Linked DNA regions of Homo sapiens: regions 1, 2, 3, 4, 5 and 6 are each linked to region 7. Evidence: promoter capture Hi-C in 16 types of primary human blood cells and fetal thymus (Javierre and others, 2016). All regions are on one chromosome and are shown on one strand. The core of a region is centred on a gene start or on the middle of the fragment in contact, and the rest is flanking DNA. Distances in the headings are between cores, read along the strand shown. Region 1 has its middle 35 kb from the start of LEP. Region 2 overlaps SND1 (staphylococcal nuclease and tudor domain containing 1). Region 3 overlaps SND1 (staphylococcal nuclease and tudor domain containing 1). Region 4 overlaps SND1 (staphylococcal nuclease and tudor domain containing 1). Region 5 has its middle 5.9 kb from the start of LEP. Region 6 overlaps SND1 (staphylococcal nuclease and tudor domain containing 1). Region 7 holds the start of LRRC4 (leucine rich repeat containing 4).

Evidence for each region. The method cuts DNA at HindIII sites, captures the fragments that hold promoters and counts their contacts. A CHiCAGO score of 5 or more calls a contact.
Region 1: a contact is called between a fragment that was not itself captured here and the fragment with the promoter of LRRC4 in region 7, in 1 of 17 cell types (neutrophils). The highest score is 5.0, in neutrophils.
Region 2: a contact is called between a fragment that was not itself captured here and the fragment with the promoter of LRRC4 in region 7, in 2 of 17 cell types (M0 macrophages and neutrophils). The highest score is 6.1, in M0 macrophages.
Region 3: a fragment that was not itself captured here is called in contact with the fragment with the promoter of LRRC4 in region 7 in 2 of 17 cell types (M2 macrophages and neutrophils); the score reaches 6.0 in M2 macrophages.
Region 4: a fragment that was not itself captured here is called in contact with the fragment with the promoter of LRRC4 in region 7 in 3 of 17 cell types (neutrophils, M2 macrophages and M0 macrophages); the score reaches 8.4 in neutrophils.
Region 5: a fragment that was not itself captured here is called in contact with the fragment with the promoter of LRRC4 in region 7 in 1 of 17 cell types (neutrophils); the score reaches 6.1 in neutrophils.
Region 6: a contact is called between a fragment that was not itself captured here and the fragment with the promoter of LRRC4 in region 7, in 1 of 17 cell types (M2 macrophages). The highest score is 5.7, in M2 macrophages.

What each region holds. Positions count from the first base shown.
Region 1 is chr7:128,274,769-128,278,485 of GRCh38, reverse strand. No RefSeq gene overlaps it. Among named protein-coding and RNA genes, the nearest start is that of LEP, 35 kb to the right of the region's middle. The HindIII fragment of the contact is 4,130 bases long and covers 1-3,717 here.
Region 2 is chr7:127,824,043-127,827,503 of GRCh38, reverse strand. All of the region lies in intron 11 of SND1 (staphylococcal nuclease and tudor domain containing 1), which reads right to left. Among named protein-coding and RNA genes, the nearest start is that of SND1-IT1, 170 kb to the left of the region's middle. The HindIII fragment of the contact is 1,722 bases long and covers 960-2,681 here.
Region 3 is chr7:127,840,784-127,844,420 of GRCh38, reverse strand. It overlaps SND1 (staphylococcal nuclease and tudor domain containing 1), which reads right to left. Exons shown (of 24, transcript NM_014390.4): 12 at 1-97. Among named protein-coding and RNA genes, the nearest start is that of SND1-IT1, 150 kb to the left of the region's middle. The HindIII fragment of the contact is 1,974 bases long and covers 881-2,854 here.
Region 4 is chr7:127,785,408-127,788,868 of GRCh38, reverse strand. All of the region lies in intron 10 of SND1 (staphylococcal nuclease and tudor domain containing 1), which reads right to left. Among named protein-coding and RNA genes, the nearest start is that of SND1, 130 kb to the right of the region's middle. The HindIII fragment of the contact is 4,854 bases long and covers 1-3,461 here.
Region 5 is chr7:128,233,673-128,237,161 of GRCh38, reverse strand. No RefSeq gene overlaps it. Among named protein-coding and RNA genes, the nearest start is that of LEP, 5.9 kb to the left of the region's middle. RefSeq lists an enhancer at 1-67. The HindIII fragment of the contact is 3,169 bases long and covers 163-3,331 here.
Region 6 is chr7:127,803,521-127,806,832 of GRCh38, reverse strand. All of the region lies in intron 10 of SND1 (staphylococcal nuclease and tudor domain containing 1), which reads right to left. Among named protein-coding and RNA genes, the nearest start is that of SND1, 150 kb to the right of the region's middle. The HindIII fragment of the contact is 4,814 bases long and covers 1-3,312 here.
Region 7 is chr7:128,029,849-128,033,100 of GRCh38, reverse strand. It overlaps LRRC4 (leucine rich repeat containing 4), which reads left to right and starts at 1,664. Exons shown (of 2, transcript NM_022143.5): 1 at 1,664-2,188; 2 at 2,361-3,252. The coding sequence starts at 2,461. The region is part of intron 16 of SND1 (staphylococcal nuclease and tudor domain containing 1); the gene reads right to left. RefSeq lists silencers at 381-450, 1,101-1,220. The HindIII fragment of the contact is 11,709 bases long and covers 1-2,148 here.

The DNA.
Region 1 (3,717 bases), core at 814-3,313, 240 kb before region 7:
TGTGTGAACATTATGTTTTCATTCTCTCAGATAAATGTCTAGGTGTACAGTTGCTGGGTCATATGGTTCGCACATGTTTAACTTTGTAAGAAACAGCCATACTGTTTTCCAGAATGGCTGTTCCATTTTGCATCCTCAGCAGCAATACATGATAAGTGATCCAGTTTTCCATAACCTTTTTTTTTTTTTTTTGAGACAGCGTCTCACTCTTATTGTCCAGGTTGGAGTGCAGTGGCGTGATCTCAGCTCACTGCAACCTCCGCCTCCCCAGTTCAAGTGATTCTCCCACCTCAGCCTCCCAAGTAGCTGGGATTACAGGCGCCTGCCACCACGCTTGGCTAATTTTTGTATTTTCAGTAGAGACAGGGTTTCACGTGTTGGCCAGGCTAGTCTGAAACTCCTGACCTCAGGTGATCTGCCTGCCTCGGCCTCCCAAAGTGCTGGGATTACAGGAGTGAGCCACCACACCTGGCCATTTTTGGTAGAGACGGGGTTTTGCCACGCTGGGCCAGGCTGGTCTCGAACACCTGATCTCAAGTGATCCACCCACCTTGGCCTCCCAAGGTGCTGGAATTACAGAAGTGAGCCACCACGCCTGGCCTCAGTTTTCCACATCCTTGAGAGCATTTGGTTTTATCATTATTTTTTATTTTAGTCATTCTGGTAGGTGTGCAGTGATAGCTCGCTGTGCATTTCCCTAATGTCTAACGATGTTAAACATCTTTTCATGTGCATGCTATTTGCTATCTGCATATCCTCTTCAGTGAAAAGTCTGTTCATGTCTTTTGCTTATTTTTAAAATTATATTGTTTTTTCACTCTTGCGTTTGGAGAGTTCTTTATATAGTCTAGATACTGTCCTTTGTCAGATATGTAGTTTGCATATATTTTCTCCCAGTCTGTAGCTTGTTTTCTCATCTTCTCAACTAGATTTTTCACAGAGCAAAAGTTTTTTAATTTTTATGAGGTCCAGTTGCTCCAACATTTGTTGAAAAAGCTCTCCCAGGGCCAGGCGCAGTGGCTCATGCCTGTAATCCCAGTACTTTGGGAGGCCGAGGTGGGTGGATCGCCTGAGGTCAGGAGTTTGAGACCAGCCTGGCCAACATGGTGAAACCCCCATCTCTACTAAAAATACAAAATTTAGCCGGGTGTGGTGGTGCACACCTATAATCCCAGCTACTTGGGAGGCTGAGGCAGGAGAATCACTTGAACCCAGGAGGCGGAGGTTGCAGTGAGCTGAGATCTCGCCACTGCACTCTAGCCTGGGCATCAGAGAGAGACTCCGTCTGAAAAAAAAAAAAAAAAAAAAAAAAGAAAGAAAGAAAGAAAGAAGGAGGGAAGGAAAGAAGGAAGGAAAGAAAGAAAGAAAGAAAGAAAAAGAAAGAAAGAGCTCTCCTTCTTCTCTTGAATTGCCTTTGTACCTTTGTCAAAATCAGTTGGGCCTATTTGCGTGGATCTATTATAATTTAATTTTTAAAAATAGCTATGTTTAACAACCAGTTCACGGCTCTCTCAGCAGGTTCTGACATAAGTTTGGTCAGCCCCTCCAGTTTTCCCCACAACCTCAGCATTTGACTTTGTGTCCTGCTTCTGTGGCAAAATAGTACCCACATGACAATTCCCTTTCCTCATCTCCAAGTCTACAAACCTGCACGCCCACCACCTCAGGTCTGTGCTTGCCTTCACCCTCCTGCTGGAAGAAAAGACCCCAACCCTCCTCCCTTCTGAGGCCAGAGCACCTGGTGCTCTGAATTCTGAACCCCTGCCCCCCCACTTCCTTAGACACCTCAGCCCAATGTTTATCCCTCCTGCTCTCCAGGCTCTCAGAATTCTTTTTATTTTCTTTTTATTTTTTTTATTATTTTGAGACAGGATCTTGCTCTGTCACCCAGGCTGGAGTGCAGTGGGGTGATCATAGTTCACTGAAGCCTCAACTTCCCCAGCTCAAGCGATCCTCCTGCCTCAGCCTTTTGAGTAGCTAGGACCACAGGTGTTTGCCACCATACCTGGCTAATTTTTTTCTTTTTTAAATTTTTGATAGAGACAGGGTCTCAGTATGCCCAGGCTGGTCTCAAACTCCTGGCCTCAAGTGATCCTCCCTCCTTGGCCTCCCAAAGTGCTAGGATTACAGGCATAAGCCACCATGATGGCCAGGCCCAGGCTCTCAGAATTCAAACAGATGTGCTTCCCAGGCCCATGCTCCAGGTCTGCCCTGCCTCCCCCTCAAGCTCTCCTTCCCACTCCCTCATCACATCTCCCATTCAGTAACTTGTTCCAAGAACCAGTTTCCACTTCCTCCCCCACTCTCCCTCCTCAATATACTTTGGTCTCCTTTTAGTCCAACCACAGTGCTGAAGCTGTCCTCCTCAGGTTCTCCAAGCAACTGAACTGTCCCCGAATCCCACCTGTGTGATCTCCATTGACGCTCTGCATAGCTGGCACTGCCATATTCTCAAGACATTGCCTCTCTGGGCCCCCATGTAGCCCTCTCTTCTGATTGGTTCCTGGTTTCTGCTTCCTCTCTCCTTGTTCCTCACATTTTGGGATTCCCCAGGGCTCTTCCTGGCCCTCGGCCCTCTCTCCCCCACACTCTCCCAGGGCAGGGTGATCCTGCCTGCTGGTGCCTCGCCCCCAGATCTCCCTGCCTATCTAGGCTGTCTCCTCAGTGCCACCCCCGGAGCAGAACACCTCCTCCTCAAGTCCCCTTGGGGCTCTTGCAGGTGCCTCAAACTCTACCTGGCCCAAGCCCATGGAGCTCAGCCCCTCTTCCCCACTCCTCCCACAATCAGTGGTCCCCAGTCCCATTTGCCTCAGCCACTCTTCTCACCCTACCCCTGCACCCAGCAATCACCAAAGCTGTCCATTCTGCTCCTGCCTCTCCCTTGAAGCCTTCTTTTCTCCTTCCCTGCTACCACTGGTTCTGGTCACCAGGATCCCTCATCTGGACTGGGGCAGCAGCCTCCTAACTGGTCTATCTATCCCCCACCCAGTGCATTCTCCACACTTCAGCCACAGTGACCTTCCTAAAGTGCAAATCTGACCATGTCACCTCTTAGCTTAGAGCCTTCTACTGGTTCCCCCAGCCCTCAGCACAAAGTCCATTTGAAGTGGACCTTGTGTGATCTGGCCTGGCCCAACTCCCCCTTTCATGCCAAGGGAGCTGCGCTTCATTCAGTTGCTCAGTGGAACTCAGGGCCTCTCTTTTTAAAAAATTGAGATATAATTCATATACCATACAATTCACCATTTTAAAGTACAAAATTCAATGGGTCTTGATATATTCACAAGATTGTGCAACAGTCACTGCTGTCTCATTCCACAGCATTTTTATCACCCCAAAAAGAACTTCTGCCTATTAGCAGTTATTGCCCATTCCCTCTCCCAACCCTGGCAAATACCAACCCGCTTTCTGTCTCTATGGATTTACTCATCCTGAACACTGTCTACAGATGGAATCACATAGCATGTGGCCCTTTGTTTCTGGCTTCTTCCACTGAACATACTGTTTTCAAGGTTCCAGGGCCTCTCTCTTGCCTGGGAACTTTAAAAACACTGTTCGTCTATCCCCAGCAAGCCCCCTCCATCCCTCTACCTGGAGAACTCCTGCTCAGCCCTCAGGTCTGATTATCCCTTCTTTGGGGGGCACTTTTCTGACCCAGATCCCTGACCCTCAGGCTTGGCTGGGACCCCTGCTTTATGCCATAGCAGGCTCACTTCT
Region 2 (3,461 bases), core at 571-3,070, 210 kb after region 7:
TATTAATCATTCACAGAAGCTAAACAATTTGCCCCCAAATTATGAAAAGGGGTATTTTGAAAGAGATGTGAAATATAAATTGCAAAGTCATAATTTGCAATTAGGCTAGGTTATAAAACAGTAAACACAAAATGTATCTGCATAGGAAAAATTAATTTTAAAAAATGATCAATATTTAAATTTTTAACGATTTAATTATTGGAAGATTTCATTTTAAATTCCAACTCTTAATTGGTTAAGTGAGCTTTTAAGGGATAAATTAAAATGAAAGCTTTACTTTAAATCAGAATGAAAAGGGCCACAGTTATCACCTAGAGCACTCATACACTGTAAGAGAAAACAGATTCAGAAGTTATGTGGCTTCCCCAAGTTTAAACATCTAGTTACTAAAAGAGTTATAACTAAGATCCTAAATATCAGAATAATATCTGAAGTGCGAGGATAGGAAACCACGTAAAAGGTATAGTATCAACATCATTTCAATAAAGAAAGTCTATTTTATGCCTGGATTGAACTTCAGTCTGGAAAGGCCAGCCCAAGGGCCTTCCAAGTTGGAGTCATTTTAGAAGCTACCCTTTAAAAGAAATGAATGACACAGGGAGATGGCTAAGAGGGTGGTCCACAAGAAGACTGACATACAGAGACCTCCAAATTCTGTTAATGACTCTGGCTCTCTCCAAAACTATCCACTCTACAGCTATACCTCTTGCTGATCTATATAAAAGCACGTCAAAAATTTTAAAAATTTAAAAAAGGGAGTATTTGTTGCTATGTTGTTTTAAAATAAGGGAATCATAAATTAATCATTAGTACCTAGGCTAAATGGTATTTAAGATAAAAAAGGGAATGAAATTAAGGTTTAATATGAGAGAAGTAAAACCCCAGGAAACAAAAAACGTTGACTTTTTCAATGAGATAAAATACAAGGACATAAAAGGATGGGAAAAATCTATCAAGCTTCTTAAATGACCAAATCCTATGTAAGAAAGTGCTCAACACTGTCAATAAATAGACATAGAAGATTTTTGTCTTTAACTCTTCTAATCTTTACATCCTCTCAAATCTAGATGACTATAATTTTGTAGGGCTTAGTGAATCTAGTTGATACCAATATACAGTATGGCTTGTTTATTAAAACAAAATAAAACCACATCACCATAGTTCAAAAAAAAATAAGATGAACATACACCAGTTAAATAAATTATATACTCATGGAATAAAATAACATAAAGCCATTAAAATCAATACATAAAAGTTTATTTAAGGATGTGAGGAGATGTTCAGAATCCACTGTCAACTTTATTTTATTTTTGAGACTGAGTTTCGCTCTTGTGGCCCAGGCTGGAGTGTGGTGGCGCAATCTTGGCTCACTGCAACCTCCACCTCCTAGGTTCAAGTAATTCACCTGCCTCAGCCTCCCAAGTAGCTGGGATTATGGGCACCTGCCACCATGCCCAGCTAATTTTTGTATTTTTAGTAGAGATGGGGGTTTCGCCATGTTGGCCAGGTGGTCTCAAACTCCTGACCTCAGGTGATCCACCGCCTCGGCTTCCCAAAGTGCTGGGATTACAGGCATGAGCCACCACGCCCGGCCTCCATTGTCCATTTTAAAAAAGGACACACAGACAGATTAGAATATAAATGTATAAGTGAAAGAAAATACACCAAAATGTTATTTGAATTACTTTTATTTTTCCTTTATACTTGCCAAACTTAGCATAATAAACATATATTGCTTTTATAATCAGAAAAAAATACAGAAGAGACATGGAAGATATTCATGGTTCAGGTATGTTCTGGCCAGGTGCGGTGGCTCACGCCTGTAATCCCACACTTTGGGAGGCCGGGGTGGGCGGATCACCTGAAGTCGGGAGTTCAAGACCAGCCTGGCCAACATGGCGAAATCCCGTCTCTACTAAAGTACAAAAATTAGCTGGGCATGGTGGCACACACTATTAATCCCAGCTACTCGGGAGGTTGAGGCACAAGAATTGCTTGAACCTGGGAGGCAGAGGTTGTAGTGAACCAAGATCATACCACTACACTTCAGCCTGGGCAACAAGAACAAAATTCAGTTTCAAAAAAAAAAAAAGGTGGCCAGGAGCAGTGGCTCACGCCTGTCACCCCAGCACTTTGGGAGGCCAAGGCAGGTGGATCATGTGGTCAGGAGATTGAGACCATCCTGGCCAACATGGTGAAACCCCATCTCTACTAAAAATACAAAAATTAGCCAGGTGTGGTGGCATGCGCCTGTAGTCCCAGCTACTCAGGAGACTAAGGCAGGAGAATCACTTGAACCCGGGAGGCGGAGATTGCAGTGAGCCCACATCGCGCCATTGCACTCCAGCCTTGGTGACAGAGCAAGGCTCTGTCTCTTATTTAAAAAAAATATATGTTTTAAGGTAACATTAGTAACTGTCATTTCTAAAAAGCAGTGACACATATATTACTGTCAATAAGGGAGATTAGATTCCCTACATATAATTCTCCAGCTGGCTTGTAATCAACCCACCAATTTTTATTCGGTGTCCACATGTTTCTACTCCCTTTCAAGTAACAAAACTATTATAGTTGTACATACATTCCAGAAAACAGACCAAAAATTTGGCAAATACACCATCTGAGGTGGAAGACAATGGGGTTAGTCACAAAGAAGATGAAGATTAGAGGTTTGTAAAGCTTTCCAAGGTCAGGAACTAAGAAAACAGGATGGTAAACAACAGCAAAATGGTTAGAACTACTAAAAATGATGACATTCCACTGCTCATCAAGTATTTTTTAAAGCAAGCTGAAAAAAAAAAGAATGCATGAGGAGTCTCATATATGTGCAAACATTAAAGGAATACTCCATCTTTTTTTTAGCACTGGGACTGCTACTCTTGCTGAAGTGACGGAAGAGAAGAAAAGATAAAGTAATTGGGACAATGAAAATGGATAAAGATCAGAATTTTCATTCTAGGCTATACAGAGCTGAAATGGATCCCAAACCTAATTGCTTCAGTCCTTAGAATAAACAACTTATCAAGAATCAGGTAGCAAGAAGGAAAACCACAGAGGTGGCCTTGAACACTTGTTATGTCTCCAATGAACAAGGAGAGAAAACAGATTTCATCTACATCACGGAATATGGCTTATAAAAACAAAATAAAACCTCAATACTTTCCCAAGAACAAAGCACCAACTGCCTTTCCTTGAAGAATTAAAAGAACTGGTAGATAAGTTTTCTGAGATGACAAATAACACTATTGCTGTGGATGTATATAAAATCAGATTTTTTTCTATCACCTAGTGCAGTCAATATGCACTTAATTTTGAAAGGGGTATTATTTAAAATCAGTGGAAACTTAAAGATACCACCATGGGAAAAGGATAGTATAAAAATATAGCACTGCATTTACAAAAGTAGTTATTTACTTTTTTAAAAAGTTTGCCTACATTTTTTAATAAAGCAGCATTTCTGC
Region 3 (3,637 bases), core at 618-3,117, 190 kb after region 7:
CTCCAATGGTGACAGTGGCACAGGTACGCTCTGAAAAGGCAGGCACTGTCTCTGTGGCTGGGCTGGCTGGTCTAATGTAGTCCACCGTCACATTGACCTGGAAACAAAGAATCAAGGGAATTAGGGTTGAGAGTCTGCAACATAGCTCACTAGCAGCCACATGTGCCTGCTCAACTGTGAAAGATCAGCTCACTCCAGTTTGGTTTTCTGAATCTAAGATTTTTAAAACCAATTAAAAGAAATAGCTGAGCAACAGACTGGGAGAAAATGTTGGCAAAAGACATAACTAATAAAGAACATTTATCTAAAATATACAAAAAACTCTTAAAACTCAACAATAATAAAACAACCTGATTTTAAAATGCAAAAGATCCAAACAGCTTACTAAAGAATACATACAAGTGGCAAATAAGAACAGGAAAAGATGTTCTACATTACATGTGATTAGAAAATTGCCAACTTAAACAACAATGAGATACCACTGCTCGTTGTAGCATAGTCAAAATTCAGAACACTGACAACACCAAAGGCAGGCAAGGATGTGGAGCAATAGGAACTCTAATTCATTGATGGTAGGAATGCAAAATGATACAGCCACTTTGGAAGATAGTTTAGTCATTTCTTATAGAACTGAACATGTACTCTTACCATTTGATCCAGGAATACAGCTCCTTGAAATTTACTTGAGGAGTTGAAAACATACACAAAACCTGCCCATGGATATTAACAGTGGCTTTGTTCATAACTGTCAAAATGTGGAAGGAATCCATATATCCTTCAGTAGGTGAATGGATAAATTGTGGTATATCCAGATGACAGAATATTATTCAGTGATAAAAAGAAATGAGCTATCAAGCCATGAAAAGACATGGAGGAAGCTTAGACATATATTACTAAGTGAAAGCAGACACTTTAAAAGGTGTACTGTATGATTCCAACTATACGACATTCTAGAAAAGGTTAAACTACAAAGACAATAAAAATATCAGTGGTTGCCAGGAGTTAGAAGGAGAGAAGGAATTTTGCCAGGAGTTATAGGCAGAGAATAGGGAATTTTTAGCGTAATGAAACTATTCTGTACGACACTATAGTGGTGAATACATGCCACTATACATATATCAAAGCCCACAGATGATATAACACCAAGCACAAACCCTATGGACTTTGTGTGATAATGATGTGTTAAGGTAGGCTCAACAATTGTAATAAATATACCACTCTGGTGTGGAAGATTGTGTGTAGGGGGCAGAAGGTATATGGGAAATCTCTGTAACTTCTGCTCAATTCTCCTGTTAATCCAAAACTGCTCTAAAAAAAAAAGTCCATTTTAAAAAGAAAGAAAAAAGCTGATAACCAAAGATGTAAATCAAACAACTAAACACATAGGTCCCCACAGCAATTTTACTTTACAGAGAAGAGGTTTGCAACATTCCTGTTGGACTCCTAGACATTATGATAAAGCAGTGCTTTAACCTCTTCTGGGTCAGACTACTTTGAAAACCTGTATTTAAAAATATGAACTGCCTCCATAGAAAAACTCCATATAATCTGTCTGTCACAGCTTCCTAAGGACCAGATTAAGAGTTATTAAGAACAACAAACAAGGTGGGCACAATAGCTTGCTCCTATAACTGCAGCACTTTGGAAGGCCCAGGTAGAAGAATTGCTTGAGGCCAGGAGTTCAAGACCAGTCTGGGAAACAAAGCAAGACCCCCATCTCTCTGAAAAATAAAAAATATAAATAAATAAATACATAGAAGAACAAACAAGATAACAATTACAAAGATGCTTGGAATTGGTTTCACAGTATGTAAATCAAAAAGATACAGCTAATTAAGCCCAACACCAACATACTTGAGAGTTAAGCAGTGTGCAGGTAGGGGAGATAGAATGGACTAGATGAATCCTTAGATTTTGAATTAATTTTGCAGACAGGAAGTTAGACGCACAAAATGCAAAAATGGTTTAACCCTAGAATACACTAAATAAATGGATATGAACACACTAAACAATGCTTTTTTATTATGAAAACTTTGAAGATAAACATAGTATCCTGTAGCAAACATATAGGGCAAGTCTTCACAGAATGAAGTTGTAGGCTTGGTTTGGGTCAAAACCAAGGTTTACAAACCCACACTGAAGAGGTGCATGGGGATCAAGGAGACGGAAGCCTTCTCCACAGTCTGGAATCCCTTTTCTAAATACATCTTCAGCTCTCACTGATCAGCTTAAAGACAGCATATTGCAGAAGCATGGAGTTCAGCCACACTGCTAGTGAGCACCGTTAAAATCCTTTCAAACTGTCTTCTCTTCAAAAACTCATCTTGAAAATGAACATGGAAATCTGGAAAAGGATAGATGCCTCAAAATTCCAACTGTCAGATCACCCACTTGAACACTCCATTGAATCATGCTTTAGAAGCAGCAGAATGGAGCCATATCAGAGCCCAAGCCAATTAAGGGCTGAGGTTAAGGTAAATCATTCTTATGAGAAGTATGGTCATAGCACAACAACACAGAAAGTAAGAAAATATAAAGATGACTCCTAAAATTAGATACCTAGCTTTAAATTATTGCAAGGTCTTAACAACTACTATAAAACTCAGGAAATGAGTAAAAATGTGAGAAATGTGTTCAGACAGGGGGATTGAACAACTAGTGCCCTCCAACAAAAAGGTTTTTAATACTTTCCCTGCATGCTGCTGGCCAGAGTTAATATAGGCCAAAAAAAGGGCAAGGAATGAGAGGGCTGCACACAGACAGGCCTGAGTAACTCAGAACCAGGGAAGGGAAGAAGTGGTCTTGATGCTAATACACCCTGGAACTCTCCTCAGACAAGGCCTCACAACAAGCTTATAGAAGCAGGTGAGGAAAACAACAAGATAGCTGGAGTCATGGCAAAAAATCACGAGTGTACAGAAGGTAGACAGTGAAGGTGGCTATACCATGTAAAGTATCTCAGGGCCCATTTTAAATAGGACAAGGCCACAGGGTATGGTCCAATTTGGGGGCATTCGCTGGGAAGTTAATAAATATGTGGAAATGAGGAACGAGGTCCATGTATCTTTCGTGTTTTCACCCAATCCATCTAACAAGCTCAAGCCCTCAATTCTACTACCTAGGGAAAAAATCAGCACTGCTTAAAAAAAAAAACTAAGTTAATCTCAAGGTTACCTTGTGCCTCCCAATGCCAAATCTCCTTCTCAGTAGGCAGACAGGGGTGGGACAGCAGCTGTTTAGCACAGAGGAACATTAGCTCTCAACCCAGAGAGAGAGCTAATTCATCAAGAGGGCTAATTCACTATGCCACATGTGTGGGAGTAATAATAGGAGGAATAACAAACAAAAGTGAACACCTGTGTATCTCTCAGGCCAGAAGGCCAAAGTGAGGTGCTGTTCCAAAACTGTCTTCCAGGGAAATCAGTGGGAAGACAAAAAAATTTTAATCTTCAATAACCAAAAGAAACAACTACATTCACCTGCCAATTAATTGTTTCCCATATCAAGAGAATAAGAACTGTAAATAAGTCAGAGATTAAACAGTTATTTGTGGATGCAACATTATTAAAGAAAATCTGAAATACAAATGAGGCCCGGAGAATAGCCCACAGCCAAGATATACACCTGCAGGCAGCTA
Region 4 (3,461 bases), core at 737-3,236, 240 kb after region 7:
TTGAAGGATGGACGACCACTGGCTACGGACATGTGCAAAAGTATGGCCCATTTAAGAAATAAGAAGTGGGCAGGTGAAACTCTAAGGAAAATGAAAACAAAAAAGGAAAAGAGCCAGGAGAATCAGGGCACCAGTGATCCCAAAGAGAAGAGAATTTGAAGAAGGAAGATATGACAACAGACTTAAAACATTCAAAGCGATTTCTGAAGACCAAAACATGCCCACTGGAAGTTCAGCAAGAGCAGTTTCAGTCAGATTTTAGTGGGTCGCATAGTTGATCAAATGTACATGATTAATGTACACGAATCTTTCAAGAAAGAATGGCAGCTAAAGGAGGGTATTGGGTCAAGAGAGAACATGGATTTTATTTTGTTTAAAAAGTGAAAATCGACTTTATTAAATGAGTAAATTAAAAGGTACAAAAAAGGACAGCTGAGAGCATTTCTGTCACAATACAGAAAGACTGGATTATGAATGATTCATAAATATTCTATTCTCTAATCTGCTAATTACAAACTGTATGATCTGGGAACCATGTATTTGTCTCCAACAGGGACTCAAACTTATTCATCTCTGTAGCCTCCAGCACCTAGTACTGAGTCTGACACATGTTATACACTCAATTAATATTTGTTGAATAAAATTACTTAATCTCTCTGGACTTTCATTTCCTTCTCTGTTTAAAAAAAGAGAGAGAAAGGGTTGACTAGATCTAAATGATGTTCCTTCTAACTCTAAATGCCCATCGGCCTGTAAATGTTACATAAAATGGGTCAATTCCCTATGATTCCTGGAAAACATGCCACATTGTAACATTCATATTCAACCAAGGGTGTGAGAAATCAAAGCAGCACCCGTTTCGCCTACTAGTGAGAATATATGCATTCCTGAAATCCTCCTTTGAGGTGGAAATGTCTCCATTAAATCAGGTCATAGAAAGGAAATCAAAGTTAGATCCCTTCAGAAAATGTTTGGATAAATGCAACTTCTTCCCCTCCCCTCCCCCAGTGCTAGTTGTCAGTCTGCACAGACACTGGCATGACTTGAAAACCTTAAAAAATAGAAAAGAAGCCTTTAAAAGTTCATTTTCAAAAATTCAAAGATAATAAATCTACAGTTGTGTAAATGTCTTACGTCTTTTAGGCCTCTTACTCATTAAGTTTTAATCCAAATTGGGAGCCAGGGAGGAAGGAAAGGAAGAACAGAGAGAGAAGGAAAAGGAACAAAGAGCAAAATTTCAAAAGTCCTCTGTATCTGCAGGCAGCTAACAGGAAATACTTGTGGCACATTAAAACATCAACACAAATCAACAGATTCTCAGAGGATCAAATGAAAAACCAACTTCCCATTATTATCAGGAAAGCTACACAGCCTTAAAAATTGGAAGGCAACTGCCTTGAGCCTAAGAGTTCAAGACCAGCCTGGGCAACATAGTGAGACCTTGACTTTACAATGAAAATTTAAATATTAGGCAGGCATGGTAGTACACAGCTGTAGAACCAGGTACTTGGGAGGCTGAGGCAGGAGGATAGCTTGAGCCCAGCAATTTGAGGCTGCAGTGAGCTAGGATACAGCCACTGTACTATAACCTGGGTAACAGAGCAAGGCCCTGTCCCCCCTCAAAAACAAACAAACAAAGGAAAATCAATAAAAACCAACAAACAAAAAGCATAAAAAGACAGAAGAAAAGGTGTGCCAATGAGCAGATGACAATGATGAGAAGTTTAAAGTATGTACCAGAGGTTCCCTCACAAGGAGATGGGGTAGAAACTACAAGCAAATATGCAATCTGGGCCAGTCACAAAGGGATTTCTTATTCAGAGAGCCACTAAAAAATGGGTTATGTACAGGATATCACATCCATTAATCATTCCAAACTTCCTTGTAGTTTAACTCATATGCTAATTTCTTTCTTAAAAACAAACAAGGCCGGGCGCGGTGGCTCACGCCTGTAATCCCAGCACTTTGGGAGGCCGAGATGGGCGGATCACGAGGTTAGGAGATCGAGACCATCCTGGCTAACACGGTGAAACCCCGTCTCTACTAAAAATACAAAAATTAGCCGGGCATGGTGGCGCGCGCCTGTAGTCCCAGCTACACGGGAGGCTGAGGCAGGAGAATGGCGTGAACCCGGGAGGCGGAGCTAGCAGTGAGTCGAGATCGCGCCACTGCACTCCAGCCTGGGCGACAGAGCGAAACTCCGTCTCAAAAAACAAACAAACAAACAAACAAACAAAACAAAACAAAACAAAAAAACACTATGCAGCAAAGAAATCTATAGCAAAAGGGATAAGGAAAACCAAGAGCCAGTCAAGGAAAAAGTGGAGTAAAGAAACTCATAGTCCTTGTCTTGAAGGGAGGGCTGTTACCCCAAATCCTGATCTCCATGGCTTATTTTAACTCTTTAGAACAGTTAAGTTCTGCATACCAGCAGAATACATAGTTAACAAGGAGTGGGCAGAGAAATTGTTCCCAATGAGATTTTAAGTGAGTCATGCTCAGTAATCCAGATGACTTCTTTACTTATCTAACTGAACAATGTATTTTATCCAAGAAGCCATTAAAAGGGCAATGCATAAGCCTAAAATACATAGCGATCAATTTAAAATGAAATTCAAGAGAAAAATGAAATGGGTATAAAACAGATCATCTTTTAAGGAGCTCAAGATTTACCAAATTTACCCTCAAATTTTAAGTTGCAGTGTGGTAAAACCCTGGGTCTTTAAGGATAATTGAAGAAGCAGGCATTAGAAAAGGGTAAAGAAAAAAAAAAAGGATGTCAACAAATCACATAAAACTGGTCCAGGCTTCAGGAAGTGTCCGCAAAAATGTCCCTCAAATTTTTTTTAGACATCTTTCCTGATGCAAGCAGATGTTAAGGTAGAAACCAAATAATTGTTTTATTTTCTTCTGTACATGCTTAGAAAGCAGAAGGCACAGGAAGGAACCAGGACTAAATAAACATGCAGCATAGCTGGGGTTATTGAGGCAGGCAGATCTTCTGCAATCTCAGTATAACTTAAATTCAATGATCTGTGCCAAGAATCAGGTAATAGAAAAATTTAAGTATCCAATACATATTGTCCTTAAACACTATCCTGTCAGCCACCATTAAATACCATTTTGGTAGCCTGTAAAATTGATATTTCATATCTACTGAGTATACAATGAATAACTATGAGAAAGCATTCAAGACTTTAGATACACATTTGAGGTTTTGCAAATAAACACTAAGAATCAATTCAACAGCAAGAATGCTAACTAAATTTCATGACTATCGAACATCTAGCAATTACAGTCACCCAGAAAGATATTGAATTGTTAGATCACTTTTAGGCCAAAAGGCTTAAATGGCTCAAGTTCCCCAATGGCCATCAAGGATGGTATTTCTTAAAGAATGTCATCTCACCACTAATAAACTCATATAAGATTTTTCTCTTTCCTTCTGTGAAGAGCATGCA
Region 5 (3,489 bases), core at 498-2,997, 200 kb before region 7:
CTAACATCCTGTTTCCTGTTGACCAAAGCAAGTCACATGGTCAAACCCAGAGTAACTGGGAGATTACCCAACCCAGCAATAGAGGGAGGCACCACTAGATTGGGACCTTACTGTAATCAGCCCATCACGGGAAAGGGTGTCACACTGAACTTATGACAAGCTTAGCCAGCAGCAAGTATCAGCACAGGCAGCTAAGTGGCTACACAGAGAAAAGGGCAACTCAACAAGGGCAGGAAAGGATACAGAGAGGCCAAGTCAGCCAGAATGGAGCTTTGAGGAGTGAGAGAGAAAATCCTTGCAAAGAAAGGTAACAAGCAGCTGGGTTTTGAAAGGCCTTCGCAGACAGTGGGAGCCATTAAAGTCACCAGAGGAGATTCACGTGGTCGAGTCACCACTTTGGAAGATTCAACTGGCAGAGACATATAGGAAGGATTGCAAGGAATAAAACAAGGATTGCAAGAAATACAGGAAGGATTGCAAGAAATAAAAATCAAGGTGACAAATTATTAAAACTTACTTATTTGCCCATTTTTTCATGCATTCATTCATTGAACCAAGAGGCATACATTGAAGGCATACTGTGCACTGGGTACTATGCTAGATCCTAGAGATTCCAAAATGAGAAAGGTACAGCCCTGGAGCTCAGCAGTGACTCAGGAGCATGAGTGAGGGGTAGTGGGGAGACAGAAAAGACAGATTCAAAATAAATTTTGAAGAAAAGAACACCAACCCTCTTTGCCCTAGGGAAAAAGTGATCATATTTCCATACACTTTCCCATCTACAGCTCAATGCTGCTCGTAGAGACACAGAAGGAGTGGGTGAGACTAAGATGCTTCATGTGGACATGGTTGCTGAGGACACCCAGCTGCTGGTATTCAGCAGTTAACTGGGGCTACAGTCCAGGTAAGGGACCAAGGATAGAGACACAATCCAGGCACGCTCTGCAAGGACACAAAAGATGACTTCTTTTGAAATCAGGGTTGTGGGGACCAGCAGGCTCGGGCCAGTGAAACATTTTATAATCTGCAAGGATTTGAGCAGATCAGTACACAGTGAAGGGTGTGGAAAGGACAGAGTAGAGATGGGAGTTTGCTGGTGTGAAGATCAGAAAGAGCTCGGTGGAAGCCACATGCAATAGAGGGCACATTGGAGCTTAGCAGCCCATATAAGTGTGGGGAAAGAGTCCTGCAAGGGACAAAGCAAGAACAGTGACTTTCCCCTCCCTGTAATTATTTAATTGCCCAAATAATCATGTGCATTGCAGAAAATTAGAAAAGGCAGAGAAGCAAAGCCATGAGAAAAAGTCATCCCTCATCACACCACGCTGAGATAACCCCTGTTAATATGTTTGTGCTGATCTGCCTGGACTTGGTAACAGCCTCTTACATCCTCGGTTGGAAGCCAGCCTGGAAACCCTGAAGAAACAAATGACAGCCAAGAGGACAATGGCAACCAGCTCCCCCTCTGGGCGGCATGCTCTTTCTCTCACTTGGTTGGTCTTTCCCATTGGAGCGGAAGGACTCGAGCCATGATCCTTTGTAGAGCTGGACCCTGCCCAGGTACCCAGGGCTGCACAGGCATTTGGAGAGATGTTCTGGAGAAGCAGCAAGAAGCCTTGTGCCCTGCAGAAAGCTGTGATCTGACACATCCTGAGGCGTCCCAAGTCTCCAGCTCTACGTTTGTCCCTAAAGAGGTGTTTTGCCAGACTGCTTGCATAAGCACCTCTAGATAAGCCTCTAGCAGCAAGATTATGGCTCAGTAGGATTCACCACTTGCACCTGCAGCTGGAGTAGGAAAGAAGGCGGGCTTCAGAGCCGAGAATGCAAGCCCCTGGGAAGGCCCTGTGCACTCAGTGCTCTGCTGGGCCCTGGATGGTCCCACGGAAGTGAAAGTCACAATTCATGCCTTCGAGGAATCCATAGTCTTCCAGCAAAAATTTGGAAACAACTCAGAATCACCATGCAAATGTGGCTGTGATAGCAATTATCTGCCAGGGGGCTGCATGGCGTGGTGTCTTCCGGGCTGACCCTGGGGCTGCACTGCCTGGGTTTGAATCCTGGCTCTGCATAGTACTTTGGGTAATCGCTTGTGCTCTCTCTGCCTCCGTTGCTTCATTTGTCACAAAAGCATCACAGTACCCACTTATAGTGTTGTCATGAGAATCGTTTGGATTATTACAAGTAGAGTACTCTGCAAGTGTTCATTATGGATTAGAGCAGGGGCTTTTGAAGCACACGGCATAGTGGAGTTAGTCCGGAAGGCTGCCTGAAGAAGGCTCCTGCTTCGCATGAGCTAAGCAGTACAGCAGGGAAGGAGTCTGAATATGCCTGCTCAGCTGGGTGGAACACAGTGACCAGAAAAATCTATCCATCCTGCTTTTATGCAACCATCGGGCCTGAGGTCTGGTTGTCCCATTATGGCCTGTAATGGAGCCGAGGAGTCAGAGGATCTGTTTGCCCAGGGCCGAGGCAGCTTGTTGCATAACCAGGGTTGCTGTATGGCACTTTGCAGAGGAGGGCATGGCTGAGAAGTGTGTCCCAGCAGCCGGGAGCTCAGGGGGACTCTCCTGGCCTAAGCAGTGCAGCTCCCCAGCACCCACCTCCTACCCGCATGTGCCTCAGATGGGAATCATTGTCCTGTGCCAGGAGATATCATTTTCAAAAATAGAGTATCTTTTATTCTGATTAAACAAATAGTGAACATCATAGAAAACATCCAGAAAAGAGAATTAAAATTTCTTATTAATCCACTACCCTGAAATCATGAAAGTTTTATATTTTTGATACATGACTTTTCTCTCTCCCTTGTGTCTCTACGTTTGTATATATTTTTTACTATCAGAAATAGTATCATGTAGTACACAGTATTTTGCAAATGCCTTAAGTTTCTTTTCATGTCATTAAATATTCTTCCATGATGTAATTTACAACTCCTGCATTGTGTGAATATGCCATAAATTATTTAGTCAAACTCTATGAATGAAAATTTAGGTCATTTTCAATGATTTTTCTCTTTTATAAATAAGGCTCTCATGCATAATCTTATAGATAAATCTCTGCAAATACTCATGCTTATTTCCTTAAGATCATTTCTGAAAGCTGGGTTCACAGGCATGCAAATATTTATGGCCTTGGATGCCCACTGCAAGGGCTCTCGGATGAGACTCTCAGGGATGGCTTCCTTGCTCGATGACCTGAGAAGGCACAGCCTTGCGGGAAGCTGGGCAGAACTCTTCAAGCACCTTGGAGATTCCTCCAGTGCTGAAGTTAAATAGCTGGGACAAAGAAATGTGGGAGGGAGTAGAGTCAGGCAATATGAAGCCAGGAAGCTTAGATGCCTTTTGGAGAGTCAGGGAACCCAAGGATTACTGGTGGAACCCTGTGAATAATTCCACTGAGGTGAATGAGGTGCCTCAAAGAGGGAGAATCCAGAAAGGACAGACTCTTTTCAGCTCAAAAACCTGCTCGTAGGCCAGGCTGGATGACTCA
Region 6 (3,312 bases), core at 434-2,933, 230 kb after region 7:
CATGTGTCACCACACCCAGCTAATTTTTGTATTTTTAGTAGAGATGGGGTTTCACCTATTGGCTAGGCTGGTCTCAAACTCCTGACCTCAAATGATCCACCTGCCTCTGCCTCCCACCCAAAGTGCTGGGATTACAGGCCTGAGCCATCACACCTGGACAAGTGTTTTGATTAAGTGCTATGCTAATACATGTGATACAGACTAGGGACTAAATGCTATAAGTGTTCAGGGAAGTGGAAAGAAGTAATCAGGAAATGTTTCATTGACAAGGTCAGATTTAATATGAGTTTGCAGGATAGTAAAGAAATAGGAGGAAAATTAAAGTTGGAAAAAACAGAAAAACCAAAAGAAGAGAGGCAGGAAGAAATAGTATGTCAACACATACACACTTACTTCATTATCTCATAGGCCCCAGACTTCTCCTAAAAGAGGTGGCTATTCTAAGCAATGCCATTTTTAGATGATATAAGAGGGTCTATCTAGATGAAGGTAACAGAAGTAGGAAAGGACAGGAGCCCGAGAGATGATGAGAACCACTTGAAGAAATGAATTAACGGGAACTGACAATGGTGTAGAAAGGGAGGATAAAGGAGTAGGAATCCAATGTGGAGTCATGATGACATGCGTAAGTCAAGAGACTTTTGTCTTTGTATAAGAAATAAGAGATCCTGACTACACCAGTTGGTATACTTCACTTTAATGTTTCCCTCCCAGAAGCCTATAAGTTCCAAGACAAAAAAGACCCATTTGTTTTTCTTTAACTCCCCAGAGCCAAGTACAGTACCTCCCTCATTAGTACATACTCAATAACTACAGTTAGATTTAAGTAGCTCCAAAGAAACATGCAGACTGATATACAAAGATCAAGTATGCTAGGAGAACAGGACTGCTTTGCAGACTTGAGAACCTCCAGGAAAATATTTGCAAAAAGTATAGAAAGACAGGAGAAAATCAAGGACTAACCCCTACCCTAGATGTACACCATTGATTCCACATCCTCTATGCTTATCCAATCTGGCCGAACCTTTGCCACCTATTATGCACCTGACAAAACAAGACACCTCTGTGCAGTCCAAACTGTACTCAAAGCAGATATTACATTTTTTCCTAAATAGCCGCTACTCTTAAGTAAACAGCCTTCATCATTTCAATGCCCCATTTAAAAATCATCCTAAGGTCGATATTATGGTTAAGGGGATCTATGAAATAGATGCTTCCTCCTCGATGCAAACTAAGCCTCCATGCCTCTAGCACATACAAACATTTCAATTCATTGACTACGACCAAGAAAATCTCTTATGAGAATGCAGATAACACTTTCAGTGTCAAGGAAATTTGAGTTTCATATTCACTAATCAGCTGTTTTCTACCTCCTGTTAAAAAAAGTGGGGGCAGAGGGCATAATGATCATCATTCCAGTGCTCTTCTAGAAACTTAAGGTAGCTCCTTCTCCCAGATCATATGTGGAAATCAACATACTCCAGATAGAAGCCTCTGGGGTGGCTGAGCTCTGATCAAGGCCCAGGTGTGTCATGATCACTGTCTAATGGGAAGGATATGACCGTAAACATGAAAATCTTTAGAGGAACAAAATAACATTGAGGTTTTCTTATAGAAAATAAAGGAAATGGGATGCATAGAAATTGCCTGGGTTAGGGGAATCCTGGTTAACACAAGGGACAGATGTACAGGATTATGGATATTTTATAAAAATAGATTACAAATCAGAGATCTCTTAAGGAGCCAAGTGTAACATAAGCTGTAAAGCAGAGTTGGTGATGGCGCTCAATCATACGTAAGAATGCTTGCCAGACAGAAGATACCAGGTGCCGGTAATAAACAGGATTTTAAATAAAGACAAAATCAATGGTTATCACAACCAGCCCTCAGGAATAAAGAAGTGTCAGCGTACTCATATTCACCAAACAACAGTGGACATTCTATTTTCTGAGGGTAGCTCTGTGATTACTAAAGACTAAGTGAACATTTTGAAAAATGAATTGAACAAAATAACGACACTGACCTTACATAGCCTTATGATTTGCCTCAGAACCCAAAATCCTGCAACTTACCTACATTTTTTTTTTTTTAAAGATATGGGGTCTTACTATGTTGCTCAGGCTAGTCTTGAACTCCTGGCTTCAGGCAGTCCTCCCATCTCGGCCTCCTGAGTAGCTAGGACTATAAGCATGCACCGCTACATCTGTCTCCCCACATATTCTGAAACAGCACAGAGGTAGAAAGGAATGTCAGTTGGCTGTAATTCCAAAACTAGGAATAAAAGGTAAGAAACACTGTTCCAATGAGCCTTCAAATGAAGATTATGGGTTGAGGTACAACTAAATGTTTGAAAATGTTTGTCTAAATAAGAATCTTGCTTTTAAGACACTCCACAGGACAAAATACCCTCAAAAGAATGAAGGAAAATAAAAAGTGTATCAACAAACATCCCAATAAAAAACAAGGCACCTTCAGAGTCTGATTATATGTCTCTCATGAAGCTAGAAAAGAACTAATAGCACAAGCAGAAAACAAGATACCACAGAATGATCTTGTTACTCTAACCCCTCAGAGCTAGTAGCTATTGACATCTGCAAACATCTTACAAGAGAGATATTAGAAGTCCCTGAGAAACCACAAAATAAAAGCAATTCCTGCAAATTACCAGGTATATAAAAGCCTTTGAAATCTCCAAGAGGCAAGTGAGGTATGGAATGTATTCTCAATTCTCAGAAAACAGGACTTTAGCTGAATTTTGCCTGCTTAAACAGAACTGTCTAGTTTAGATTCTAATTTACATGGAAATATTTTTTAAAAAATAAAAATAGGAAAAAATGCTTGCTTCATAAACTCGTGGGTGGATAATACACAAACCAATATGTGCTGTAATCACTGTTCATCCTGAGAAATGACATTGCATGTAGGCCCTGCAATGACTCACATTAGAGATGGAAGAGGTAACGTCAGTCATCTGTACCTCTCATCAGTTTGGGAAGGAGGCCCAATATCCACATCTCAGCATCTGAAGATACAGCTAGCATTTTTTCAGGAAGGTATTTTTGGCTGGTTGCCAAAATTGGGAGTCTGGCCAATGTTCATTAGGAGGGAATGAAAGAGAACTTGAATCAAGTCCTTATTCTCAACCCCCATTCAGGCCTAATTTTACCTAGCCCATTCTTAAACATTGTACCCCAAAACTAAATGACCTTGGGATACTGTAGGATTATTATAAATGAGGGAGAAATGAAGGCAGAAAAAAGAATATAAATTGATTGCCACTGATATACACTCAAAATGGTGAAGATGGTAAAT
Region 7 (3,252 bases), core at 415-2,914:
CAGGGGGCTCAGCCGCCCGCCTCCCTTCCCCCAGTTCTCTGGGGGCAGCGGGGAGCAAGGGGCGACTCCGGCCAGCGAAGACTGAGAAGCCGCGGCTGCAGCTCCATGAATGAACGGGCTGTGTCGTGGGCTCCGGGAGTTCACCTCAATCCTTCCTGCCGGCCTCTGTGCTGTCCCAGGTTGCCATTCCCCAGCTCATCACACTTGGTCATTCCTGCCACTGTTTCCCGCCCCCGCAACCCTCATTAAGGAAACCCTCATTTAAAGCCCCAGTGAGAGCACAGGAGGGGTGAGGCAAAGCGAAGGAGGGGCTGGCGGCAGTGCAGCAGCGAAGCCCGGGCTCTCGGTCCTGGGAGCCTCGTGGCCCCGGCCGCCGTCCCCCGAGTCCCCACCACGCAGTTCCGAACTCCGAACGCGAGTCCGCGCCCCGTCAGCAGTCAGCGGGGGTGAGGATGACGCGGGCCGGGCGAGAGGCAGGCCAAATGCAGCAGCCCCGCCGCGGGCCGCCGGGCCCCTGAGCCCCGCTCTTCAGAGCCAGGGGGCCCCGGGTGCGGGCCGGAGGGCGGGGGCCGGCGCGGGCTCTCCCGCCGCAGCCCCGCGCCGCTCCAGCCTATCAGCGGCCACCCAACTGCTCCCTCCGACCGGCCCAAAATAGCTGCGAACGCCTGCGACTTGCGCGCGGCCCCTCACTTGACGCTCACTCCGGCTCGCTCGCCCGCTCGCCCTGGCCCCGCTCCGCTCGTCTAGAGGGGGCGGGGAGGAAGCGGCCCGGGGAGGGGGGAGGGGGGAGGGGGAGAGAGGAAGAGAGGAGGAAGGAAGGAGGAAAGAGGAAGACGGGCGGCCGGAGGCGCGGGGCTGCGCGGCGCCGGCCGGCGCGGCGCTGGAAGGCGCCGGCGTTAACCCCGCGAGGCAGGCGACGGAGGGGGAGCGGCGCTAATACATAAGAGCACTGCATCACGCTAATCTTCTCCCAGAACAGTATGCGTCAGCAGTACATTCACGTTCTGACTGAAGGACAAAAGGATGAGAGAGCAGTCTGCGTGGCTGCCGCCTGCAACACCGCGAGCCCGGCGCGAGGAGGAGACGGTGGGCGCCGCGCGCAGGGGCCCCGCTGCTGCTGCTGCCGCCGCTAGCCAGCGGGGACTATGTTCCTGGGCTCCGGAGCGTTTCCCGCAGCCGCGACCCCCGCTGCTCACGCCGCTGCAGCAGTCCGCTGGCGGCGCGGCCACTGAGGGCGCCGGGAGCCGAAGCCGCGAACTCGCTCCCTCCGCACAAAGCCGGAGCCGGCGGCGCGCCGGGGGCCGGGCAGCGGCGGGCGGCGACGGGCGGTTGCGCGCCGCCGGGGGCTGCGGCCGCCGCCGCCGCCGGACCCGCGCCCGCCCCCGGACTCTCTGAAGGGGCCTGCGGTGCGGGCGCGACCGCGGGCGCCGCGCGCTCCTCCGGCCGGCGGACCGGGTCCGAGCGCAGCCGCCACGCCGCTGGTCCTCGGGGGCCGGACGGAGCGCCGCCCCGCGTGCCGGCAGCCGGCGGACTGGAGAACTGACCCCCCGTTTTTGTCTCTTCCACCCTCCGAGAAGAGGCGAGGAGAAAGGGGGTGTGTGTCTGGGGAGGGCGAAGGCGCCGCGAACACCTCCTCTTAACTCTCGCCGCTCCGCGAGCTCACGACCGCAATCAGCTGCCGCCGGCCCGGAGCGGCCGACGCCGGGAGAGGGAGCGCAGCATCCAGCGAGTGCGGCCTGGGCGGCTTCGGGGCGCCCCCGCACTCCCTCCGGCGGCGGCCCGCAGAGCGGGCCGGGGCCGCCGGAGCGCACTTTGGCGATGAAGCGCCTTCCCCCGCGGCTGGAGCGAGCCGGTGCCAGGGTCCAAGGACAAAGCCGGGAAGCGCTGGTGGCGCCGCTCCTTGGGCGGAGGGGGGGGCATGCACCTGCATAGCCCGCCGGGCCTTGGCTCTCCCAGGCGCGCCTCAACTCCGCGGCTTCGCCGGCTCCGGCTCCGGATTTACTAGAGGCCATTTTGTCTCCCCCACCCCTTCCCTCCCCTCCCCTCCCCTCCCCTCTGCCCTCCCCGCCCCCACCACTTCCCCCTTTTGTTAATTAAAACTAAGAAGTCGGAATGGGAACGAGGTGCCCAGCTCCCGTGGAGAAAGCTTAAGGACACCACGCCAGTGCTTTCCTGCCTTCCTTCCGAGGTAGGTGACGGCGAACTGGGTGGGGACGGTTGCAGTGTGGGAGAGTCGTAGCTTTCGGAGGGCTTGCCTTGAGGGTGGGTTGGGAGACCAGGGGCCGCTCGAGTTTGGCAGGATTTTTTTCGGCCGATCCGCTCCGTCTCTCTAATCGCCCCCTCCCCACCTCCTTCTCCAGATGGAAAGAGGAGCTCCTAGCTCACTTAAGCCGGGGTAGGGCTGGTTCTCCTTTCCGAGCCAAAATCCCAGGCGATGGTGAATTATGAACGTGCCACACCATGAAGCTCTTGTGGCAGGTAACTGTGCACCACCACACCTGGAATGCCATCCTGCTCCCGTTCGTCTACCTCACGGCGCAAGTGTGGATTCTGTGTGCAGCCATCGCTGCTGCCGCCTCAGCCGGGCCCCAGAACTGCCCCTCCGTCTGCTCGTGCAGTAACCAGTTCAGCAAGGTGGTGTGCACGCGCCGGGGCCTCTCCGAGGTCCCGCAGGGTATTCCCTCGAACACCCGGTACCTCAACCTCATGGAGAACAACATCCAGATGATCCAGGCCGACACCTTCCGCCACCTCCACCACCTGGAGGTCCTGCAGTTGGGCAGGAACTCCATCCGGCAGATTGAGGTGGGGGCCTTCAACGGCCTGGCCAGCCTCAACACCCTGGAGCTGTTCGACAACTGGCTGACAGTCATCCCTAGCGGGGCCTTTGAATACCTGTCCAAGCTGCGGGAGCTCTGGCTTCGCAACAACCCCATCGAAAGCATCCCCTCTTACGCCTTCAACCGGGTGCCCTCCCTCATGCGCCTGGACTTGGGGGAGCTCAAGAAGCTGGAGTATATCTCTGAGGGAGCTTTTGAGGGGCTGTTCAACCTCAAGTATCTGAACTTGGGCATGTGCAACATTAAAGACATGCCCAATCTCACCCCCCTGGTGGGGCTGGAGGAGCTGGAGATGTCAGGGAACCACTTCCCTGAGATCAGGCCTGGCTCCTTCCATGGCCTGAGCTCCCTCAAGAAGCTCTGGGTCATGAACTCACAGGTCAGCCTGATTGAGCGGAATGCTTTTGACGGG